Regions from separate parts of the Homo sapiens genome. Here regions 1, 2, 3, 4, 5 and 6 are each linked to region 7. The links are contacts of gene promoters, found by promoter capture Hi-C in blood cells and fetal thymus (Javierre and others, 2016). All regions are on one chromosome and are shown on one strand. Each heading gives the region's core, a stretch centred on a gene start or on the middle of the fragment in contact. The rest is flanking DNA. Distances are from core to core; before and after follow the strand shown. Region 1 has its middle 9.7 kb from the start of TMEM97. Region 2 overlaps TMEM97 (transmembrane protein 97). Region 3 overlaps POLDIP2 (DNA polymerase delta interacting protein 2). Region 4 overlaps SARM1 (sterile alpha and TIR motif containing 1). Region 5 has its middle 33 kb from the start of TMEM97. Region 6 holds the start of KSR1 (kinase suppressor of ras 1). Region 7 holds the start of LYRM9 (LYR motif containing 9).

What was found. Contacts are between HindIII fragments. The CHiCAGO score rates a contact against its expected background, and 5 or more counts as called.
Region 1: a fragment that was not itself captured here is called in contact with the fragment with the promoter of LYRM9 in region 7 in 5 of 17 cell types (erythroblasts, M1 macrophages, M0 macrophages and 2 more); the score reaches 12.1 in erythroblasts.
Region 2: a contact is called between a fragment that was not itself captured here and the fragment with the promoter of LYRM9 in region 7, in 4 of 17 cell types (erythroblasts, endothelial precursors, M0 macrophages and 1 more). The highest score is 7.8, in erythroblasts.
Region 3: a contact is called between a fragment that was not itself captured here and the fragment with the promoter of LYRM9 in region 7, in 2 of 17 cell types (erythroblasts and naive B cells). The highest score is 7.6, in erythroblasts.
Region 4: a contact is called between a fragment that was not itself captured here and the fragment with the promoter of LYRM9 in region 7, in 1 of 17 cell types (erythroblasts). The highest score is 5.0, in erythroblasts.
Region 5: a fragment that was not itself captured here is called in contact with the fragment with the promoter of LYRM9 in region 7 in 6 of 17 cell types (M2 macrophages, erythroblasts, M1 macrophages and 3 more); the score reaches 9.3 in M2 macrophages.
Region 6: a contact is called between the fragment with the promoter of KSR1 here and the fragment with the promoter of LYRM9 in region 7, in 3 of 17 cell types (monocytes, M1 macrophages and M0 macrophages). The highest score is 7.7, in monocytes.

Annotation. Positions count from the first base shown.
Region 1 is chr17:28,307,936-28,311,121 of GRCh38, reverse strand. No RefSeq gene overlaps it. Among named protein-coding and RNA genes, the nearest start is that of TMEM97, 9.7 kb to the left of the region's middle. The HindIII fragment of the contact is 3,560 bases long and covers 1-3,186 here.
Region 2 is chr17:28,327,799-28,330,981 of GRCh38, reverse strand. TMEM97 (transmembrane protein 97) reads right to left here. Exons shown (of 3, transcript NM_014573.3): 3 at 2,297-3,183. IFT20 (intraflagellar transport 20) reads left to right here. Exons shown (of 5, transcript NM_001267776.2): 3 at 454-539; 4 at 1,706-1,809; 5 at 2,249-2,656. The coding sequence ends at 2,330. Among named protein-coding and RNA genes, the nearest start is that of IFT20, 6.1 kb to the left of the region's middle. The HindIII fragment of the contact is 691 bases long and covers 1,580-2,270 here.
Region 3 is chr17:28,354,153-28,357,159 of GRCh38, reverse strand. It overlaps POLDIP2 (DNA polymerase delta interacting protein 2), which reads left to right. Exons shown (of 11, transcript NM_015584.5): 2 at 1,284-1,365; 3 at 2,575-2,672. Among named protein-coding and RNA genes, the nearest start is that of POLDIP2, 1.9 kb to the left of the region's middle. RefSeq lists an enhancer at 1-233. The HindIII fragment of the contact is 1,713 bases long and covers 658-2,370 here.
Region 4 is chr17:28,378,370-28,381,581 of GRCh38, reverse strand. SARM1 (sterile alpha and TIR motif containing 1) reads right to left here. Exons shown (of 9, transcript NM_015077.4): 2 at 1-379. Among named protein-coding and RNA genes, the nearest start is that of SARM1, 8.3 kb to the right of the region's middle. RefSeq lists a silencer at 1,326-1,526. The HindIII fragment of the contact is 1,410 bases long and covers 1,197-2,606 here.
Region 5 is chr17:28,284,401-28,287,830 of GRCh38, reverse strand. It overlaps the pseudogene KRT18P55. Among named protein-coding and RNA genes, the nearest start is that of TMEM97, 33 kb to the left of the region's middle. The HindIII fragment of the contact is 9,556 bases long and covers 1-3,430 here.
Region 6 is chr17:27,454,546-27,457,698 of GRCh38, reverse strand. It overlaps KSR1 (kinase suppressor of ras 1), which reads right to left and starts at 1,251. Exons shown (of 21, transcript NM_001394583.1): 1 at 825-1,251. The coding sequence starts at 1,055. RefSeq lists silencers at 392-441, 962-1,721 and an enhancer at 1,085-1,586. The HindIII fragment of the contact is 16,082 bases long and covers 1-3,153 here.
Region 7 is chr17:27,892,059-27,895,220 of GRCh38, reverse strand. LYRM9 (LYR motif containing 9) reads left to right here and starts at 1,856. Exons shown (of 4, transcript NM_001076680.3): 1 at 1,856-1,904. RefSeq lists a silencer at 1,675-2,224. The HindIII fragment of the contact is 2,313 bases long and covers 624-2,936 here.

The DNA.
Region 1 (3,186 bases), core at 504-3,003, 420 kb before region 7:
TATGAATTTTTTATTTCATATATTGTGCTTTTGGGCTGTCTCTAAGAAAATATTTGTCTAGCCTGTGGTCGCAAAGATTTTCTTCTGTATTTTTCTTTTAGAATATTTCATTTTCAGTTTTACATTTAGGTCTGTAGCGCATTTTAAGTTAATTTTTTATTATGATTCAAAGTATGGATTGAGGCTCTTTTTTTGTTTTGCATATGGACACCGAGTTCTAGTGTCGTTTATTGAAAACACTATCATTTCTCTGTTGAATTCTCTTTGTACTTTTGTTGAAGATTAATCATAGATGTGTGGGTCTTTTTTTGGACTAAAACTCTAAAACTATATTATTAATCCTGATTTGTATTGCATCTGACAGATCCAGAATGATTTGAAAAGTTAATTAGCTAACAAATTTAGAAGTTTGTTAAGTGTCTTATTTGGAACCTGGCATTTGCTGACAGTAGTTTGTAATCTACAGAAGGGTTTTCTAAAATAACTTTAAGCCTAAGATTAAAAGAAGATTTTGCTAATGACTCATTATCTGTTTGGAAAAACTTGTGTGATTTTTCATGCAGTAGGGATGAGCTGAAATGGTTTTTCCTAGAAGATGCCCATTTTCTTTTTTGTAGAATTACTTGGTAGTTCTCTAATAATCTGTTTGTGCTTTATATCATCTTTGATAGTGATACATTTGGGGGCAGTTCTCTTTTTGTTTAAAAACCATCACGTAGTTGTCCTAAGTTAAATATTCTAGGCCAGACTTGATGGCTTATATCTGTAATCCCAGAATTTTGAGAGGCAGAGGCAGGAGGATCACTTGAGCCCAGGAGTTTGAGACCATCTGGGCAACAGAGTGAGACCGCTCTACAAAAATCAAAAACAGGTCGGGTGCGGTGGCTCAGGCCTGTAATCCCAGCACTCTGTGAGGCTGAGGTGGGCGGATCACCTGAGATCAAGAGTTTGAGACAAGCCTGGCCAAAAAAAAAAAAAAAAAAAAAGAGAAAAGAAAAAAAAGTAGTTGGCTGTGGTGGCGCATGCCTGTGATCCCAGTTACTCAGGAGGCTGAGGCAGGAGAGTTGCTTGAACCCAGTTGGTGGAGGATGCAGTGAGCCGAGATCGCGCCACTGCACTCCAGCCTGGGTGATGGAGCAAGACTCCATCTCAAAAAAAAAAAAAAAAAAAAATCAAGAACATATCCAGGCATGGTGGTACATTCCTGTTGTCCTAGCTGAGGTGGAAGGATTGCTTGAGCCCAGGAGTTCAAGGTTACAGTAAGCTATGATGGCCCCACTGCACTCCAGCCTGGGTAGCAGAGAGAGACTCTGTCTCTAAACAAACTAAAGGTTTAATTACTTTTTAAAAAGTAGTACACAATTATTGTTTTTAGGATGGATTTTTTTTTTTGACAGACTCTTGGTTTGCCACCTAGGCCTGAGTGCAGTGGCTTCATCAGCTCACTGCAGTCTTGAACCCCTGGGCTGAAGTGAGGCAGGAGCCTCAGCCTCCCGAGTAGCTAGGACTATAGGACTAGGAATACAGGCACATGCCACCACACCCAGCTAATTTTTTTGTAGAGACAAGGTCTCGCTATGTTGCCCAAGCTGAAGTCCAACTTCCTGGCCTCCAGCAATGAATGCTCCCACTTCGGCCTCCCAAAGTGCTAGAATTACAGGCGTGAGCCACTGTGCCTCGTCTATTCTTTTATCATTAAATTGTATAGACCTGTAGAGTGAAAGAATTGATATTCGGCTGTACATTGGTGTTCTATAATATAATAAGGTTTGAGCTAATCTCAGTATTTGAATATTTATTATTTAGTAATTTAGAAGTACTTTGCAATTAACACCTTTAAATTAACTTAAAATTTTAAATGTAGTAGAAATTAAAATGCCAAGAAGCAGGTGTTATTTAAAAAAAATCATTGGACAAAATATTGAGGTTAATTTAAGACAGACTTTCAGGATTAATAGCTATTTTAAATTTTTTAAAAATCATTTGTTGATGAGTGCTTTTTCTTATTCCTGAAATAACTACTCATAAGTCCTTTTTTATTTTTTTATTTTTAATTTTTATTTTTTTTTGGTCTTTGGAAAACATACTCCTGTCCCTTGCTATTCCATTTTTCTCCTTTTTTCCCCCTTTCTTCATTTGGATAGACTTTGCCATACAATTTTATTTTTATTATTTTTATGTGGTAAAATACACGTAATAAAATTTATCACTTTAACTGTTTTAAAGTATATAATTCAAGCCACGTGTAGTGGAGCCCGTAGTTCCGGCTAGTCAGGAGGCTGAGCCTGGGATCCTTGAGCCCAGGAGTTTGAAGACAGCCTGGGCAACATAGCGAGACCCCCTTCTCTTAAAGCAAAAGTATATAGTTTAGTGGCATTAAGTACATTAACAATATTGTATGACCATCACCACCACCATCTTGTTCTAGAACTTGTTCATCATTGCCACTTAATGTTAGCACCTAATTGTTCCCTAGTGTTTGGCTGCCATATTAAGTATTAGGTTTGTAAAGGATAAACAAGACTTAGTTCTTGTCCTCGAGGACTTCAGAGTCTAGTGAGAGAAACTTAACATTTATGATACAATGTGGCAAATTACATGCTAGAGTTCCCCATCACTGAATTTTATTTATTCAATTAGAATTTTTTTATATATTTACCAATGCATATATTTAATGAATCAGGCATACAATGCTCACCCATTCAGCAATTTCAGTGCTTTTCCTGTTTGCCTTGAAAATTTCATCCAGGAATTCACAAAGGAATACTCGATGAAGCCACATCATCAAATGGATTTTTCCCCAGGGAAGTCCAGTTTTTTTCCTTTTTTTTTTTATTATACTTTAAGTTCTGGGGTACATGTGCAATTCCTCAATTAGAATTTTAATTTTACCTTGAGAAAGCAAAGTAACTTTTTGTTAATATTCCGGTTATCGTATCATTCCACACACTGAATTCATTTAGGCTAGACCAAAAGACTGAAGTCTTTAGTCTTTTGACTTAGGTCATTGTGGGACTCACAAATCCTCATGCCCTATACTGTATTGCAAGAAGGGAACCAGAAAATTGACATTTTGATTTAGAACCAAATTATGAGCTATTCCTTCCTAATGAAGCAGGGAGATCTGTGAAAACTATGATTAGAGAGAACTTCTTAGTTGTCTGCAACTATCATTTGTTGAAACTG
Region 2 (3,183 bases), core at 676-3,175, 440 kb before region 7:
GGGTCTGTCTGGAGAATGAGCCCAGCAAGGGCCTAGTGCTTTCATAGCCGGAGGTCATAGCGGCTGGCTGGCTCAGTGGGGATGCAAGGTCCGAGTATGCCCTGGTCCAGCTGGCCACCCTTCTCTAGGTTCAGACCAAGGGTAGGAGACAGGCCAACAGGCACCAAAGTGTTTAAGCGACAGGGTCTTGCTATGTTCCCCAGGCTGGAATGCAGTGGCAGTTCACAGGCATGATCACACATCCTCTAACTCCTGGGTTCAAGTGATCCTCCCACCTCAGCCCCCTGAGTAGCTGGGACTACAGTTGCTCTCCACCACGCCTGGCCCACACCGAACTATTTTAACACAAATTAGAAGGGGCAGTCCGCTCTGCCCTCTCACTGCCTTAGCACTCTACCGAAGGGGAGTGATGATACTAAGGAAATATTTTATTTTTTGTTCTTTTCCTAAAAGAAATTGGCCAGTTTCAGAAAATAGTTGGTGGTTTAATTGAGCTTGTTGATCAACTTGCAAAAGAAGCAGAAAATGAAAAGATGAAGGTAAGATCAGCATGTCTTCCGCCTACATCTTGGCCTGGGACCCTAGTTCACTACCCTCTCATCCCTCTTCCCTCTTGATTTATTTAGAGGGGTAGAGGGCTGGGTGGGTGAATTTTTATTTAAGATTTTAATAACTTCTGGTCCACTTAACCTACTGAACTTTTGCCAATCTTTATTTCCTTTAATCTTTATTTTTTTTTTTTTTTTGAGACAGAGTCTTGCTGTGTCACCCAGGCTGGAGTGCACTGGTGCAATCTCGGCTCACTGCAAGCTCTGCCTCTCAGATTCAAGCGATTCTCCCACCTCACCCTCCCGAGTAGGTGGGACTACAGGTGTGTGCCACCACACCCAGCTGAGGTTTTTGTATTTTTTTTTTTTTTTTTGAGACGGAGTTTTCTCTCGTTGCCCAGGCTGGAGTGCAATGGTGCGATCTTGGCTCACTGCAACCTCCGCCTCCTGGGTTCAAGCGATTCTCCTGCCTCAGCCTCCCGAGTAGCTGGGATTACAGGCATGTGCCACCATGCCTGGCTAATTTTGTATTTTTAGTAGAGACAGGGTTTCTCCATGTTGGTCAGGCTGGTCTCAAACTCCCAACCTTAGGTGATCCGCCCGCCTCAGCCTCCCAAAGTGCTGGGATTAAGGCGTGAGTGACTGCGCCCGGCCATTTTTTTGTATTTTTAGTAAAGATGGGGTTTCACCATGTTGGCCAGGCTGGTTGCAAACTCCTGGCCTCAAGTGAACTGCCTACCTTGGCCTCCCAAAGTGCTGGGATTGCAGGTGTGAGCCACCACACCTGGCCTCGTTTCATCTTCATATCAGCACTGATGTAGATGGTCTTATCCTCATTTTATAAATGAAGAAATGAAGGCTTACATAGTATGATTGGTGAAAGGCACAAGGCTGAATGGCACCACCAAATGTGCTATTGTGCCTGTGTCCCTGGCTCTAGGAATACTCCTAGACCTGCCTCAAAGCTGCCGTCTAGTTCTTGAGGCACTTTGTGATCAGTAGGTTAATCCTTCTGACTTAACCCAAAAGCTTTGGGGCTCCACTTTCTTTTCCTCTCTGAAGACTGACACAGCTCCCAGATAACCCCTCCCCACTTTGAGGACTTGATGCTGTAGATGGTTTTAATGAAGCCATGGCCTTCTCTGGCAATACTGTAGGCCATCGGTGCTCGGAACTTGCTCAAATCTATAGCAAAGCAGAGAGAAGCTCAACAGCAGCAACTTCAAGCCCTAATAGCAGAAAAGAAAATGCAGCTAGAAAGGTAAGAAGTCATGATGTAAAGCAAGTTCTTTACACAGCTGAATTTCCACTCTTCCTTCTGGAATGATCACTTCTTGTCCTTATTCTTCATCATTGTTTTCCCAGGAATAGCATCTCACTTGTCATCCTGATTTGAAGATTTTAAAAAATAAAATTACATTTGATGGGAAGGAAATAGAAAACTTGTTAATATCAAACCACCTCTAGTAGTTTGAGCATGAAAGGGTCCACGAAGTTGGCTGGCTCTCTGAAAGAAGACTTTCCTAGGGCTGGAGATTTCTCATGGGTGGCTCTGGGTAGGGCTTTGCCTCTTTCTTTCTTCATTCTGAACTCACACCATTTCTTGAAATCATTTAAACCTCTATATCCTTCTCTAGAAGAATTAGGTCTGTGGTTTACTTCATCTTTTTTTCAGGGCCTCTAACAATTTTGTTTTTCAGGTATCGGGTTGAATATGAAGCTTTGTGTAAAGTAGAAGCAGAACAAAATGAATTTATTGACCAATTTATTTTTCAGAAATGAACTGAAAATTTCGCTTTTATAGTAGGAAGGCAAAACAAAAAAAAGCCTCTCAAAACCAAAAAAACCTCTGTAGCATTCCAGCGGCTTGACCAATGACCTATGTCACAAGAGGTGGCGTGTAAGGAATGCAGCCCCCTGAAGACAGCACTACAAGTCTGGGGGAGCCAGTTTTAACATCAGTGCACAGCTGCTGCTGGTGGCCCTGCAGTGTACGTTCTCACCTCTTATGCTTAGTTGGAACTAAGCAGTTTGTAAACTTTCATCCTTTTTTTTGTAAATTCACAAAGCTTTGGAAGGAGAAGCAATAAATTTTTGTTTTCAAATGGCTTGATGTACCTTTTTTCCTGTTGCTCTTGAAATATGTTTAACTCCTCATGAGAGAACCCTGGATTCTCTATCCCCTAGTCCACAAAACAAACCAGGCAGTGGTCAGCAGCTACCTTTATTTGGATCACACACGTGAGTCAGACAGTACCACTAATCGGGCCAATATGGCTTGTGAGCAAAATGGGTGAAAATAGAGGGAACTGACTGGGACCTGTTGTCTAACATCATTTTAAGGTTGAACTTGAGCAAAGACTTAGAGAAAGCTGATGGAATGCCAAGCATCAACGTGAAGAGACCCTCTATGCACACAGTGGATATGTTATGCCTGGCTGTAGCCACCTTCTCTTCTGAAAACAAGATGGGAATGACGGAACTGTATTAAAAGATTAAGTTATCCACTAGGGAGCATACTAGCACACTTCCAGATCAGCCTTGAGATGCTAGACTTCAGATACAGGGACTTGTGTCAGGTGGCCTCTAGAAATGTGGAAGACTAAGATTTAGAAATAAACTAATTTAAAAGCAA
Region 3 (3,007 bases), core at 265-2,764, 460 kb before region 7:
GAGCAGGGAGCCGACCTGCGCTGTCTGGGACATGTGCCAGGAGCAGGGAAGCCAGCGCGGCCCAGAGCCCTGGTTGTACAGGGCTGGCCCTGGGGGGGAACAGGTTACCCTCCCCAAGTGAATCCTACTTCCCCGGCTGGGGTCCCCAGCACCGATGTCAGAGGGAAGCTTTTTAATTCAGCCCTAGGGCATTGGCTTGAACCCTCAGCCTTTGGATTTGGTGAAGGTCTGCCTCAGAAAGATGCTAGAGGTGGGAAACGAGACTCTTGGGTGTGGACCCTCGTAGGCCCCAGGTTTCCAAGTGACTTTGGGGAGATCGATTTTCTATCTGTGACTTGGGGAAGGGGGTTTGAGGCCATGGGGATGGTGTGGAAACTGTTTCCACGGATGGGACAGGCGGATCAAATGGGCTGGTGGATCAGTGGGAGGAAGCATAAAGTTCACATCTTCAAAACAGTAAAAACAGCCTTTATTTGAAGGGCCCCTAGAAAGAGCAGCCCTGTTCAGAGTGGTGACTGACATTTTAGTGGCTGATATTAGACACTGAACATTGGGGAGAGATGATAGCTATTTGCAATTTAAGACCCCTGTGAGAATATGAACAAAAACGGTATTGAGAGAGCGATGTGCCGTAGGAAATCTAGAGATGTTTAAGCTTTTCAAGGGCAATGTAAGGGCTACAGGTTAGAGGGGGAGATGGACATGGAATTATAATACAGGACAAATATTTTTTGAGCACCTCTTGTACACTAGGCTCTGAGGGGGCAGTACCAGCTAATCAGACTCAGGCATTGCTCCCAGGGAATTTACAGTATTTAATAAAGATAAGACATGGACACAACTGAAATGTAAAGGGAGCAGGATATTGTTTGATGACTTGTGATATAGAAAATGTAAGAAAAGAAGAAAAAAAGATACTCCCCTTCTAAAAAAATTGAAAAAGTGAGCAAGACAGTTAAAGTGCTGTGGGAGGTCAGGAGGGTGGGTTAGGGAAGAAACAAGGGCAGGGGTACATTTGAGCAGAGTGTGAGGGCATGATATGAAGAATGCCCAGTGAAGAGAGAAGACAGTAGTATGGGAGCGGTCACATCTAACACTGGGAGACTGTGGAGGTTTTCACCAAGGAGGAGGAAAGCCTTTCCTGCTCCAGCTGGTCCCACTACCCCAAACCCTTCTCTGCTGTCATCGCCCTGGCCCCTCAGTATCCTAGGAGCTTTTTCTTATGGATAACTACCATTACCTTCTCAGCTTTTCTGTTGCTTGTTCTTTTCCTTCCTACTCAGAAACCGACCAGAGGGCAAAGTGTTGGAGACAGTTGGTGTGTTTGAGGTGCCAAAACAGAATGGAAAATATGAGACCGGGCAGGTGAGTATTGGGCTGGGTCATCTTTCATTTTCATAGAGTGCTCTGCTTCTGAAAAAAGTCAGATTAGGTCACAGGCCTGCATGGTATGGTGTTCCATTCATTCCACCTTGATGTTTGGTGCCATTCCAGAATCAAATTTGTATTCATTTTTTATTTTATTTATTTATTTTATTTATTTATTTTTTGTGAGACGGAGTTTCAGTCTTGTTGCCCAGGCTGGAGTGCAATGGCATGGTCTCGGCTCACTGCAAGCTCCACCTCCTGGGTTTAAGCAGTTCTCCTACCTCAGCCTCCCTAGTAGCTGGGATTACAAGCATGCGCCACCACACTTGGCTAATTTTGTACTTTTAGTGGAGATGCGGTTTCTCCATGTTGGTCAGGCTGGTCTCGAGCTCCCGACCTCAGGTGATCCACCTGCCTTGGCCTCCCAAAGTCCTGGGATTACTGGCGTGAGCCACCGCACCCAGCCCAGAATCAAATTTTTATAGATAGGGTTTCTGTTCTCCTGGATTTGAATGCACTTAATGTGTCAGTGGGTTCTCTTTCCAAGTTAATGTGGACAGGGATGGTGTGGACTATAGTGAGGTTTAGCCAAGTTGCTGAAGATTTCTCTAACATAGTGGATGGTGGGAAGCCGTGGAGGGAGCTTTCAGAAAAGTATACCTTTGATGCTTTGCCGTAATAAAATTGACTTCAGTGTGGTAAACTCTGGATGTGTGGTTCTTTTTCTATATCAGCTTTGTTCTGGGTCCACTGGGATAGATTTAGGCCCTTCTAGGATATTGTAGGTAAGGAAGACTTTTTGTTTGTTCAACATTTTATTTTTCTGTGTGCCTACAATGGACTAGGCATTGTGCATTAGGGTTAAATCAGAAAGCAAAGTAGACATGATTCCTGCTATTGTGGAGTTTCTAGTCTAGAAAAGAACGATTTGCAAATGGCCAATAGCTGTACATTGTGCTAAGTGGAAGGGAGGTCAGGGAAGGCTTCCTGGAGGCCTAAGCTTTTACCTAAAGGATGAGTAGAGTCAGCCAGGTAAAGAAGAAATAAGAGTGTTCCAGCATTGGTCTGGTTGATCACAGACTTCAAGGGAAGAGGTAGCAAGACCTTGTGCTGGAGTTGCCTCCACCTGTGTTGCTTTGTGGTCTGGGGCCCACCTGGATGGATTTGCTGGACTGCAGACTCACTGAGGCCCCTCTTTCCTTCCAGCTTTTCCTTCATAGCATTTTTGGCTACCGAGGTGTCGTCCTGTTTCCCTGGCAGGCCAGACTGTATGACCGGGATGTGGCTTCTGCAGCTCCAGAAAAGTAAGTTTCCCTGTGGTTGTGCCTCACAGTATCCTCAGGAGGAGATGGCAGACATATGTAATTGGGGTACTAGGGGTGAAGACAGCGTCCTCCTAGGCCTTGGAAACATCCCCAGAGTACTTCTCTGGGACTAAGACCCATGGAGACAAAAGTGCTGAGTGCCAGGGATAGTCTAAGTCAGAGAGTCCCTTTAGGCCTCCTCAGAATGCTTTCCTAAGCCATTCCTAATTTTCATTATGAGTATCCCAGAGGGCATTTGGGGGACAAGTCTTCTTGATTTCTTGATGTTCAGCTGGAGTCTTTCCCTCAATCTCACATCATCCCTAGAATACATT
Region 4 (3,212 bases), core at 652-3,151, 490 kb before region 7:
CACCTCCTTGTTAGTCGCCAACACCGCTACTGCGAGGCAGGCGTGCAGCCGAAGCAGCTCGTCCTCCTTGGAGAAGGCGAGCGGGAAGAGCCACTCGGCTGCGCGCTTCTCTACCATGCGTCGCTGCACCGCCTGGCCCCCGTGCAGCGCGCAGTTGCCCAGCGCCAGCGCGCAGTGGCGCAGCAGCGCGGGGTCCGTGCGGCGGCACCAATACAGCACCGCGTCCAGGCCGCCGGCCGCCACCAGCCTCTGGCATGTCTCCTCCGAATGCTTGAACATGTGCTCCAAGATGCCTGCCACGCTCCGCGCCAGCTCTACGGGTTCGCGTTCCTTCGCCAGGTTCAGGATCACGCCCAGCCCAATGCGCGCCACGCGGTCTCTGCCCAGTGAAAGTGGAAGGGGACAGTGGAATTGCCGCAGCTTGGGGAGCTTGGCTTGCCCGTTTGGGGCCTGGTCACTAACCCTCTCTGGGCCTCACCGGCCTCATATAGGGGAGAGCATTCCCCTCCCTGCTCCCCACCCTCATCTCCTCCCCTGGGAGGACCCCACTTCTCGGATTCTAAGGGTGCTCTATTCTGGCCATAGCCGTTCTCCCCCTCCCTCCTCCCCTTGAGAGGCAGTATGTGTGGTGGCTAAGAGCCTCAGCTCAGGAGCAGATCCCCTGGGTCCTGGTTTCTTCTCAGCCCGTTTTCTAACTGGGATAAAGGAGACCTTTGGGCAGCTTCCTTTATCTCTCTACCTTGCTTTCCTTATCTCATAAATAGAAAATAGAAATACCTGCCTCATAGGATTATTATCAGGACTAATGAGATAAGCCTTATAGAGTGCTTGGCACAATGCCTGGCACATGGTAAAAACTCAACAAATATTAACTTGTCCTAATTTGAAGTGTCACTTGAAGCACACCACTCTTAGCCTTGCCTTTTCCTCACTCCATGGCCCATGACCGGGGCATATCTATTCATTCATTCAACAGATGCTTCCTGAGGACGTCCCCTGTGCCAGCCACTGCACTAGGGGCTGAGGTTTAACAGAGACTGGCCAGAGCTTATCCTCAGGGCGATGGAGGAAGACATAGACAAGAAAACAATGAGTGAACCAGATCGTAGTGATAGGGCCTTGGCGCTAGCAAAACAGGATGATGTAATGGCGTGTGCCTGGAGGAGGGGTATGTGGGAAGAGGTGACATCTAAGCTTAATGTGAAGAAATCCCTGTGTGCAAATATCTGGGAGGAGCATAACAGGCAGAGAGAGGAGCAAGGATGAAGGCCTGAGGGCAGAGGAGCTGACGTGTTTGAGGAATAGAAAGAATGCCAGAGGTATTGCGATGTCTAAAACCAAAAAGGGAAAATATAAAACCAGGCTGGGCAAGGTGGCTCATGCCTGTAGAATGCTTGGCACAATGCCTGGCACATGGAGGCCAAGGTGGGAGGCTCACTTGAGACCATCCTGGACAACAAAGTGAGACCCTGTGTCAAAAGAAAAAAAAAAAAAAGAGAGAGAGAGACAGAAAAAAAAAAAAAAGAAAAGAAAAAAATCAATGAGGGGTTTATATGTAGAATATATCAGCAAATATTCAAATCAAGAAGAAAAAGGCAACAAATTCAAAAGAAAATGGGCAAAGGACATAAACAGGCAATTGACAAGAGGAAATCCAAAATTTGAAAAACCAGATAAAGAGATGCTCTAACTCATTAGTAATCAGAGAAATGAAAATTAAAACAATAGCTATCGCTACCTGAAATGTTCTTCAACAAAATCCGCTTCATGGTTCGTCATTCCAATGTCTGCTCAAATGTTACTTCCTTCCAATCATCCAATCTAAAGGCTTTTCCCCATCACTTTCTAACTCATTACCTTATTTTATTGTCTTCAGGGCATTTAATATCTGATATTATATTAATAGTCTACTTGTTTGTTAGTTCCATAGACCAGAAACCTTATCTGTCATTTTCTTTCTTAAAATGATCTAGGCCGGGTGCGGTGGCTCACGCCTGTAATCCCAGCACTTTGGGAGGCCGAGGCGGGTGGATGACAAGGTCAGGAGCTCGAGACCATCCTGGCTAACATGGTGAAACCCTGTCCCTACTAAAAATACAAAAAATTAGCCGGGCGTGGTGGCGGGTGCCTGTAGTCCTAGCTGCTCAGGAGGCTGAGGCAGGAAACTGGTGTGAACCCAGGAGGCGGAGCTTGCAGTGAGCCAAGATGGCACCACTGCACTCCAGCCTGGGCAACAGAGCGAGACTCCGTCTCAAAAAAAAAAAAAAAAAAAAAAAAAAAAAGATCTAAATGGAGAAAATTACCCTTTCCTAGAGTTTCTTCACCTAAATCATTTTATTTTATTTCAAAGGCCATTCCCACTCTCCTTTGTCCCTGACCACTCTCCACACACATACCTTGAATAAAATGTTCACTGGCAGAAAACAAGCAAACAGAAAACCAGCTACCACTTTACACCTGTTAGATGGGCAAAATCAGAAGCTGAACAATACAGGCAACCTCTCCCAAAGAGATTGTCATATAGATAGAGAAAAGCACTTAGACAAGGATGTTCACTGCAGTGTCATTTGTAGTGTGAGGAAGTTGGAGGCAATCAGTATCAAGCTTGGGGAGAGTCAGGTAACATGGGCAGGTGCCTACTCTGTAGGATTTGCAGGGAGGTCCAAGTGACTGAGCAGGTGATAACACAGCAACACGAACCTGGACAACATAGCCTGGGCAACATAGCAAAACCCTGTCTCTACAAAATCAAAAAAATTAGCCATGTATGGTGGCACAGGCCTGTAGTCCCAGCTACCTGAGAGGCTGAGGCAGGATGATAGTTTGAGCCCAGTAGGTTGAGGCTACAGCGAGTCATGATTGGGCCACTGCACTCCAGCCTGGGCATCAGAGCAAGACCCTGTCTCAAAACAAACAAACAAACAAAAAACCCAAAAAACAAAAAACAAAAACAAAAACAAAAAAACCAATAAAACCCAACACTGAGTGGGAAAAAGTAAGAAATAGAATGTGCTATATGACACAGCACTATTAATATACATTAAAAATACATGCACACAAGACCAAGAATAAAGATTTAAAGATTTTAGCAGAACACAGATAGAAAGATACACATTAGATATACTGAATGGTTCCTTATGGAGTTAGGGCAAGAGAATAGTGTGGGCATTAGTCAGGAGGAGAAGGAGAGATTGCATTTCAGTTGCATTTCA
Region 5 (3,430 bases), core at 346-2,845, 390 kb before region 7:
TGTAGTCTTAGCTACTTGGGAGGCTGAGGGGAGAGAATTGTTTGAGCCCTGGTACTGGAGGTTGTAGTGAGCTGTGATGGGCCACTGCACTTCCTGCATTCCAGCCTGGGCAACAGAGCTAGACCTGTCTCTATAAATAAATTATGCAAGACCTGTCTCAATCAATCAGTATCAATATTTTACTAATTTCTTAAGAAACATCATTCTTTGAGAAAATATTTTTATTAATATTATAGTGACATAGATACATTTTTCTGAATAGACTTTGCAGAAGCTAAGTTGTCTTTGTATCTTCCTTTTCCTTTTCTTTCTTTATTTTTTTATGAGATGGAGTTTCACTCTTGTTGCCCAGGCTGGAGTGCTGTGGCATCATCTCGGCTCACTGCAACCTCTGCCTCCCAGATTCAAGTGATTCTCCTGGCTCAGTCTCCCAAGTAGCTGGGATTACAAGCACACACCAGCACACTCAGCTAATTTATTATATTTTTGGTAGAGATAGGGTTTCACCATGTTGCCAGGCTGGTCTTGAACTCCTGACCTCAAGTGATTGGCCCGCCTTGGCCTCCCAAAGTGCTGGGATTACAGGCGTGAGCCACCGGGCCTGGCCTTACTTTTCCTTTTCAATTCATATTTTCCTTTGTAAAAAGGAAATAATGCTTAATATTTATTATGTGCCAAATATTGATCTAGAGTCTAGATGTTTTGCATTGTCTCATTTAATGAAATAGATATTAGTATGCTCATTTTATAAATTGAAAGTTTTGGAAAGTTTATACAGCTACTGAGTCTCTGCCATTCAAACATAAGCCTGACTTTGAAATCAATATTCATACCTTTTCCCTTCTCAGGAAAAGCTGATACTGAAAATAGGAATAGGTAGGTGGTAGGATAGCAAACATGCAGCTCCCCCAAATCACAAAGCAAGGTATGGATTGTCAGAAAGGCTGAGTTATACAGAGAGCTGGCGTAGCTGAAGGAGCATATAGCTGTAATCTCTGTTTTTTTGCTAATTAAATGGGCCTTGGAGTCTTTATTCAGTTGCCAAAGGCAAGCATAATTTTAGTTATTTACAAACCAGATTTAATAAGGTATGGGCTCTATAGAGTCTTTGACCTTTTTAATGGAATAAATATAAACAATAGAAAAGAGGCCCAGATAATAAACAAGATTAGTCAGAATTGGCTGTCAACAGTAAGAGGTTAGGTTTTAGGGATAAAATAGAAAAGGAAAGGGCCGGACGTGGTGGCTCATACCTGCAGTCCCAGCACTGTGGGGGACCAAAGCAGGAGGATTGCTTGAGGACAGGAGTTCAAGAGTAGCCTAGGCAATATAGCGAGAGCCTGTCTCTACAAAAATTAAAATAAATATGAGGATGAAAGGGATTGCAGGAGAGGAGAGGGAATGAGAATGGGGAACTTGCATGCTGTATATAAAGGGACTACTTGTTTCCTAGTACAGAGATCATCACATTTAAAGGATAAATTAAAAGACCTTAAATGTGAGTTAAGTCAAGAAAAAATAATAATCAGAAAAGAAGTTGCAGTTCCAGTGGCATGTGCCTGTAGTCCTAGCTACTCAAAAGGTTAAAGCAGAAGGATCAGTTGAGCCTGGGAGTTTGAGCCTGGGCAACATAGTGAGACCCCATCTAAAAATTAGCCAGGCAAGGTAGTGCACACCTATGGTCCTAGCTACTTGGGGGGCTGAGGTAAAAAGATTGCTTGTGTCTAGGATTTGAAGGTTACCGTGAGCTATGATTATGCCACTGCACTGCAGCCTGGGCAACAGAGCAAGACCTTGTCTCTAAATAATAAAAATAAAATGCTATAAGGGTTCAAAAGAAGAGTGACTAGGGATGACTTCGGAAAGAAGTCCTGAGGAGAGAGGAATAGGTATTACCAAAGACAGGAGATACTGATGTATACACAGTAATTGCAGTTGACAAAGAGTAGGCATAGCTAATTGGAGCAGATTGTGTCTATGGCATAGTGGATTTCATGCATTCTTTAACAGAAGAAACCACCTCAAAATTTTTTTTTAATGTTGAACTTCAGTATATGAAAGAGAAGGGAAGCCCACACAGTGTTTTTTTTGTTTTTGTTTTTGTTTTTGAGACGGAGCTTCGCTCTTGTCACCCAGGCTGGAGTGCAATGGCGTGACCTTGGCTTACTGCAACCTCTGCCTCCTGGGTTCAAGCGATTCTTCTGCCTCAGCCTCCCCAGTAGCTGGGATTATAGGCATGAGCCACCACGCCTAGCTAATTTTTGTATTTTTTAGTAGAGACAGGGTTTCATCATGTTGGCCAGGCTAGTCTCGAACTCCTGACCTCAGGTGATCCACCCGCCTCAGCCTCCCAAAGTGCTGGGATTACAGGCGTGAGCCACCACACCCGGCCCACTCAGTTGTTTTGATTGAAGCAGAGTTCTAGGTCTCCAGGAACAGTTTAAAAGCTATAGGCTGGGTGCGGTGGCTCACGCCTGTAATCCCAACACTTTGGGAGGCCGAGGCAGGTGGATCATGAGGTCAGGAGTTTGAGACCAGCCTGGCAACATGGCGAAACCCCATCTCTACTAAAAATATAAAAATTAGCTGGGCATGGTGGCGCATGCCTGTAATCCCAGCTACTTGGGAGACTGAGGCAGGAGAATGGCTTGAACTCTGGAGGCAGAAGTTGCAGTGAGCCAAGATTGTGCCATTGCACTCCAGCCTGGGCGACAGAGCAAGACTATCTTAAAACAAAAACAAAAACAAAAACTGTAACTAGGCTGGGCGCGGTGGCTCACGCCTATAATCCCCAACACACTGGGAGGCTGAGGTGGGAAGATCTCTTGATCTCAGGAGTTTGAGACCAGCCTGGGCTACAATAGTGAGACCCTGTCTTTACAAAAAAAAAAAAAAAAATTAGCCTGGTGTGGTGGTGTGCACCCTTGTTCCTAGCTACTTGGGCAGCTTAGGTGGGAGGATCACTTGAGGCCAGGAAGTTGAGGCTGCAGGGAGCCCTGTCCATGTCAGTGTGCTCCAGCCTGGGTGACAGAGTGAGACCATGTCTCAACACACACACACACACACACACACACACACACACACACCCTTATAACTGGAAGGCAGAAATGGGAAATATTAGAATAGGCACAAATCTCATACTTATTTATTGTTTACTATGTGCTAAGCACTTAACAAATATCTCATTAAAATCTTATAATAGGCCCCTGAGAGAATTACTGTTATTCCCATTTCGTGTAAGAAACTTCTCTTTTGTGTAGAGAAGTTTAATAAGTTCAAGGATAAGCAACCAGTAAACTATAGAATCAGGATTAAGATCTTAGGCCTTCTGCCTCCAAAACTCATGCCACACTGAATGTGGAAGGCTTTAATGCTCCTTCAATGCGGAATTGTATTTTGTAAGCCAAAGGCAATTTTTGATCAGAAGAGA
Region 6 (3,153 bases), core at 2-2,501, 440 kb after region 7:
AACAACCCTCGGGCTGGTTTTTCCAAATCCTTCAGATACTTCCCCAGCTATAATTTGAGAGAGGAAGGCCCGCATATCTTATTTCTTCTTTACACTCCAGACTGTCTCCATCAGAACCCTTTAAACAGTTTCATCTTCCCACCAAAGGCTTGCTTCCCAGCATAATCCTTCCTAAGCCTAAATCCAATCTTTGGGGGGAAGCAGGGGGAGTCAGCGGGTAATTATTAATACATTTTAAGCAGCGAGCCTCCGTGGCAACGTGAAAGGAAAGCACCAAACGCCTGAATAACAAAAATGCAGTTTCAGCAACACTTTTTGAAAAGGCGGCAGACAAGACCTGAGAGGAGAGGAAAGGAAGGGACAGGACGGCGTCTGGGGCGTGAGGGGAACAGGGGACGGCAGGCCTGCGATCACGCTTCAGGGGAACCTCCTCCGTCACCCTGGCCCACGGGTGCTCGGCTCAGTCACACGGGGAAAAGTCCAGCTTGTGACTCGGTGGGACAACGAGTCCTGCGGCCCCGCAAACTGGAAATGGGGTGGGGGCGGAGAAGGGGGGAAAGGGGATGTCCGCGCGCAGCCCACCCCGCACGGGCCCCTCGAGCCTCCATCCCAGTTCCCACGACGCACCCGCCCCACAAATCCTGCCCAAGATGAGGGCTGGTCCCGGGTCCTCCGGCTGCCGCATCAGCGAGTGCAGGAGGGAGGGGAAGCCTCCAAGGGGGGCGACGCGGGCTCAAGGATGCAACTCGGCCAGGAGTACTGGGGCCCGGAGGGAGGTGTCCGGGCCCGCTCCTCGAGCCCAGCCTGGTCCCCGACCCACTTACCTCCAGGGTCCGTATCTCCTGCTGGGTGAGGTCGTTGGACACAGCGCACTTGGTGCGCAGCCCGCGCAGGCTGCCGATGGAGATGTCGATGAGCTTCTGGAGCTGCCCGCACTGCTGCAGCGCCCGGCTGGCCGCGGCCCCTGCGCCTCCCTCCGCGGCCGCCGCATCCCCCCCGCCACCGCCCTCCTTCTTCTCTCCCATCGCCGCCGCGCGCAGCGCTGCTCTATCCATGCCTCGGCATCGGGGCCGCGGCGGCCGAGGCTGGGAGCCCGGGGCGCGGGCGCCTCGGCAAGGAACCCCCGAGCCAGGAGAGCTGGACCAGGAGCGCCCCTCGGCGCTGCCCGAGCCGGGACGCCGGTAGAGCCGGCCGCTGAGTCTGCCGCTTCCACCCTCCCAGCCGCGGCAGCAAAGCGAAAGCCGCGGCGACCCGACGGCTGCGGCTCCCGGAGCCTTTAAGCGGCGGCGGGGGCTGGGTCAGGGCGGCCGGGCATGCTGGGACTTGTAGTCCACGCCGCGCACCTGCCGCCGGCCTCCGCCCTCGGGGCCCCGGACCGCGCCCGCGCCGCCCTCCCTGCCCTCCTCTCCCCTCCCCTCCCGGCGGCCGCGGCGAGGCAGGCGGTGAGGGCCGGCCCCAACCGGGAGCCCCGGGTGGAGCTGCTCCGCGCCAGCTCCTCCCCCAGGCGCCGAGAGTCGGGGGAGCAGCGTCTCCCCGTCCGCCTCCGTCCCCCACCCGGCCTAGGAGCTTCCCGCGACCCCCGGATGGGGCGGCGCCCCCTGGACGCCCGGCGGGTGTGCGTCCCGCAGTTCCTCAGCTGCAGCCCAGCCCTGGAAGATGGGGACCAGGGAGGTTCCAGGATTTGTATGTGGGTTTAGGGGCTGCCATCTAGTGGGAAGGGGCTTACAGCACTTCTGTAGCTGGCTCACAAAGCGCTCTACTCTGGACTGCCTGCGCCAAAACGATTGCTCAGGCTTGGAGAAAGACGAAGAGCTTTCTTCTGAACCACATTTACCTGCCAAAATAAGTGTCCCATTCCCCCGCCATTCCCAGCCCACCAAGCCAGCCCAGACACGGGGGACAGCACACTGAATTGTCGGTGGCTTCGGAGCAAGTGGCCAGGATTCAAATTCTGACTCCACCACGGTCTAGGGTGAGACTTTGGGCACGTTCGATTTCCAGTGAATGCCCGACTCTCCTCATCAAATAACTCTTTAATAGGGTTCCTATGAAGAATCAGTTAATACATGTACAGCACCTAGATTGATTACTGGCACATGTGGTCGCTGGATAAATGTTAGCAATTCTTACTATCTAACCTCAGATCTGAATGTGGCCCTGGACCCAGGTAGTGGCCATGGAGCAGTACAGTACTGCCAAGGACTGGTAGTCCTTTGTCCTCTGTGCATTTCTGTGCCTCCTAACCCAGCAATCAAGCCTTGCCCATCTGTTCACCCTCCTCTCCCATTAGTTCACCCCATGCGTTCTATTATCTGGCAAAACTGAAAAACCAAGTCTCTGATCAAAGCTCCCACACCTTCATGCTTTCGACATCTGTCAACCAGAAAAAATGTCTCCCCTCTCAATTTTCTCTTGTAAGCTGCTTGATTGCAGAAGCCACTAGCTATTGTACCCTCTTTATAGTGCCAGATACAGTGCATGGCACACAAGAAAGGCTCCAGCGTGCCTCAGGAGCTCTTTCAGCAGGTCCTATGGGATGTTTCTTTTACCTCTCAGGCCAGCCGAGGGTGTGTGTGTGTGTGTAGATAGACAGTTGTTTTTTTGGTTTTGTTTTTGTGTTTGAGGATGAGAATTGGACAGGAGGTGGGATCCAAACCTTGTAGACACTAAAACAATCAATAATGGATGGCAGTTTGTATTACACCTTCCTTTAATGTTTATATTACACCAGCCTTCGAAATAAATTAAGGGCTGGGCACCGTGGCTCATGCCTGTAATGCCAGCACTTTTGAGAGGCCAAGGGGGAAGGATCACTTAAAGCCAGGAGTTCGAGACCAGCCTGGGCAATGTGACAAGACCCTGTCTCTAAAAAAAATAATAAATTTTTAAAAATCAGGTCTAGGAAGCAAAACTATAACTTTAAAACTTGTTTTTGCAAATTAACCCCTCCTCGAGATTTTCCAAATGCAAGGAGGTTCCTCCCTAACCCCTGGCCTTTCCCATTGAGAGTCATTGATCCAGTCCTCACTCAACTTATAAAAAGACCGCCTGCACGATATTATGAATTTCTCAACCTGTTACCTTAACCCCATCCGACTCCTTGCAAAGTAGTAACTATTATGAAAGGGAAACTAGTTGTGGTTCTCAAACTTG
Region 7 (3,162 bases), core at 607-3,106:
TGTTTATCTGTAAATATCATGCACTGTCTGACATAAGGGGGTTCATCTGCTAAAATTTCAGTGTATAGGAAAATGACATGGTAAAAATGGTTGGGGTTTTATCAGATTATGAGACTGGTGTCATTTTAAGTGAATGTTTGGACTAGTAAAAATTATTTCATTTTACTATTGAAGCTGTAAGAACCTAAGGTTGCTGTCAAGTTGAAAGGTTCAAATTCAATTATTTTCAAATCTAGGTTTCCATTGTGACTTGGAAAAAAAATTAGAGATTATTGTTCAAATCTCTCCTACTTTGGATTTTTTTTTCTTAGTATTTGGATGTTTATAAGAAATTGTTGTGAAAGTTAAAATCTTGTGCGTTTGTAAAATTGGAAGAGGCACAAGTGATTCTGAAGGTGGAGCCTTTCAGAGGTAAAGCAAACAGCTTGCATCTTCAATATTTTATGAGATCTAGGTATTAGAACCATGTTTCTGATGCAGGAATACAGCTATCTAGGAACAAAAGGGAGATGAGACTACAGAACAGACTGTGAAATTTCTTAAAATTATTAAATGATCCTAAGACTGAGCACAGGAGTGGATGATGTTACTGCAGATTGTTCTTAATAAGGGCTTTAAAAGCTTAATGATTTATTGATTGGCTCTGCATTAATGACGTGCCCTTGATTATGCATGTGTAAATAAGAGGGCTGATTTATGAGGGTACAATTGTATCTTTCAGATATATTTGTCCAAGTCTACATCTTTAAAATAAATGGAAGCAATTATCTGAATATTTCAAGGGAGGGAACCCCACCTTCCCATCCCCCACCCCCGATTTGAGGGAAGTCTAGTATGTTAGGTGAAGAGAAAAAAAAAGAAAAGAGGAAGCTCTAAAGGGAGTTAGGAACAAAACAAAACTTCCGTTAAGAAATATCCCTGCTTCTCTTATCCTAAGAGAAGAAAAACAGATTCCCAGGTGCCACCGGGGAGCAATGTTTTACTTAAAAAAAAAAAAAGAAAAAGGAAAAAGAAAAACCTGTAAGAAGTTGTCCTGTTAAATCAACGACACATGGAGTCTGAAGGAAATCAGCCTTTTCGTTACAAACAGGTTTAAAAAGCCCTGGAGAAGAGAGACGTGAACAGAAGCAATATTATCCACTAACAACCTAACTCCCGCTTAGACATCAGCTGAGAGATCAGCAGCATCATTGAACAGGGGGGTTTGTCTTAAGATAATGACTCATCTTGATTTCTTTCAGGATATAAAACTTGTATTTAAATCAATTCAGAGAAGCACTTGAGCTTTAAACATTAGAGAGCAGGGAGAGCCTATTTAATAAACAGCATTATTTCATTTTCAAAGAATGATACTGGCAGTAGCTCTAAGTTTAAATTTTGTATTATTTTCCTCAATTATAATTATAGATGGGTCTGAAAGGAAGCATGCTTATTACTGTCATATTTATTCTTTTGACAGGTGTTATGGGACTGTAATTTGGTGAAATGATTCAAAACGCAGATTCCTATCCAAACACAATTCTTGTCATCAACACGAGAGGTTCAGGAAAAGTCCTCCAGCAAGCCTTTCAGAGATCTTGAACACCCCATATTCATAGCACAATCCATATTCAGGAATAAGGAGGAGAGAGTGCCTTTAGGGCTTATATCCGGCGTAGCAACAGCCAGAAGGCAGAGTGGGTGTTTGAGGTAACAGGTAACGAAGGCTGTTAGTGGGGACAGCTTTCAACTGGGTGGGGTCGGATCTAGGAAGAGGCACCCAGTAGGACCCCGAGTCCCGCGCGCGGCCGGCAGAGGGCGCTGGGCTCACCGTCGCCGGGCAGGGGCGGTGCCGCTCAGTCCCCGGGGCGCAGGCGCACTCGTCGCCGCGGCGGCGTCCGGGGCTGGCGTTCCCCTGGAGGCTGGTGAGCCGCGCTGCGCAGGCCGAGGCCGAGGGCGGGGGCGCGGGGGCAGCGGCGGCCGGAGCCACTGGGTGGCGGGGGCGGGCTAGGGATGTGGAGGCCTCGGGTGTCCTCGGATCTATTGAAGACCTAGGGGCGACCCGCGCCGGCACCTTTTCCCTTGCGGTCTGCGCTCTTCCACCGGAGAGCTGAGTGCACCGGAGCGCGGCGCCCGGGCTTGACGCAGGCCTGGCCGGGCGGCCTCGGAGGAGCAGGAAAGGCCTGCAGCGCGAGCTAGGGGCGCGAGGTCCGGGGCAGCCCGGAGGCCAGCCTCTCAGAGGCTCACGGGCCTGGCCACTTTTAAAAGGAGAATGTCCCCTCCACCGTCCCTCTGCCCGCGGCACCCGGTGGCCGGAGCAACCTTGTCGTGATGATTTATGCTTCTGCGTAAGAGCAAGTTGCTCCGTGGCCAAAACCCTTTCGCTCCTAGGATTGATCCTTTTTGTGGTTATTGTTTTAAAAAGTTTTATTGAGATATAATTCACGAAGCATACAGTTCACCCATCTAAAGTGCACAATTCAGTGTCTTTTAGTGTGTTTGCAGAGTTGTGCAGCTGTCACCATAATGTTTTAGAACATTACCCCCCAAAAGAAACACCTCCTTTAGCTGTCACTCCCCCCTCCCATCTACTCCCATTCTCCCAGCCCTAGGCAACCACCAATGTACTTCTGTCTCTGTACTTTTGCCTATTCTGGATGTTTCGTATAAATGGAATCATACATTAAGTAGCCCCTTGTGACTGGGTTTGTTCACTTAGCGTAATGTTTTCTGGGTTCACCTGCCATAGGTTCTTGACTTCAGGACAGTTTCCTGCTGGCTTTAGTTTCCTCTGGTAACTTGGGAATCAATTGACATCTATGGAACTTCTGTTATGGTTCAGGTACTATAAACTGTGGAGGAGTGACTAATAACCGTATATATATTTTTCTTACTAATTTCCCTTCATTTCACAGGTGTTGAACTAATACAGTATAGTTTCTTGTTCTTCAGAAGCTTACAGTCAGCAAGGAACAGAAAGCCAAATAAAGTAGGAAAGGGTAAGATGTTCAACGCTGGGCGCAGTGGCTCATGCCCATAATCTCAGCACCGTAGGAGGCTGAGGAAAGAGGATCACTTGAGCCTAGAATTTTGAGACCAGCCTGGGCAACATAGTAAGACTTCGTTTCTATAAATAATTAAAAAAATTAGCCAGACGTGGTGGCGTGTGCCTGTGATCCCGGC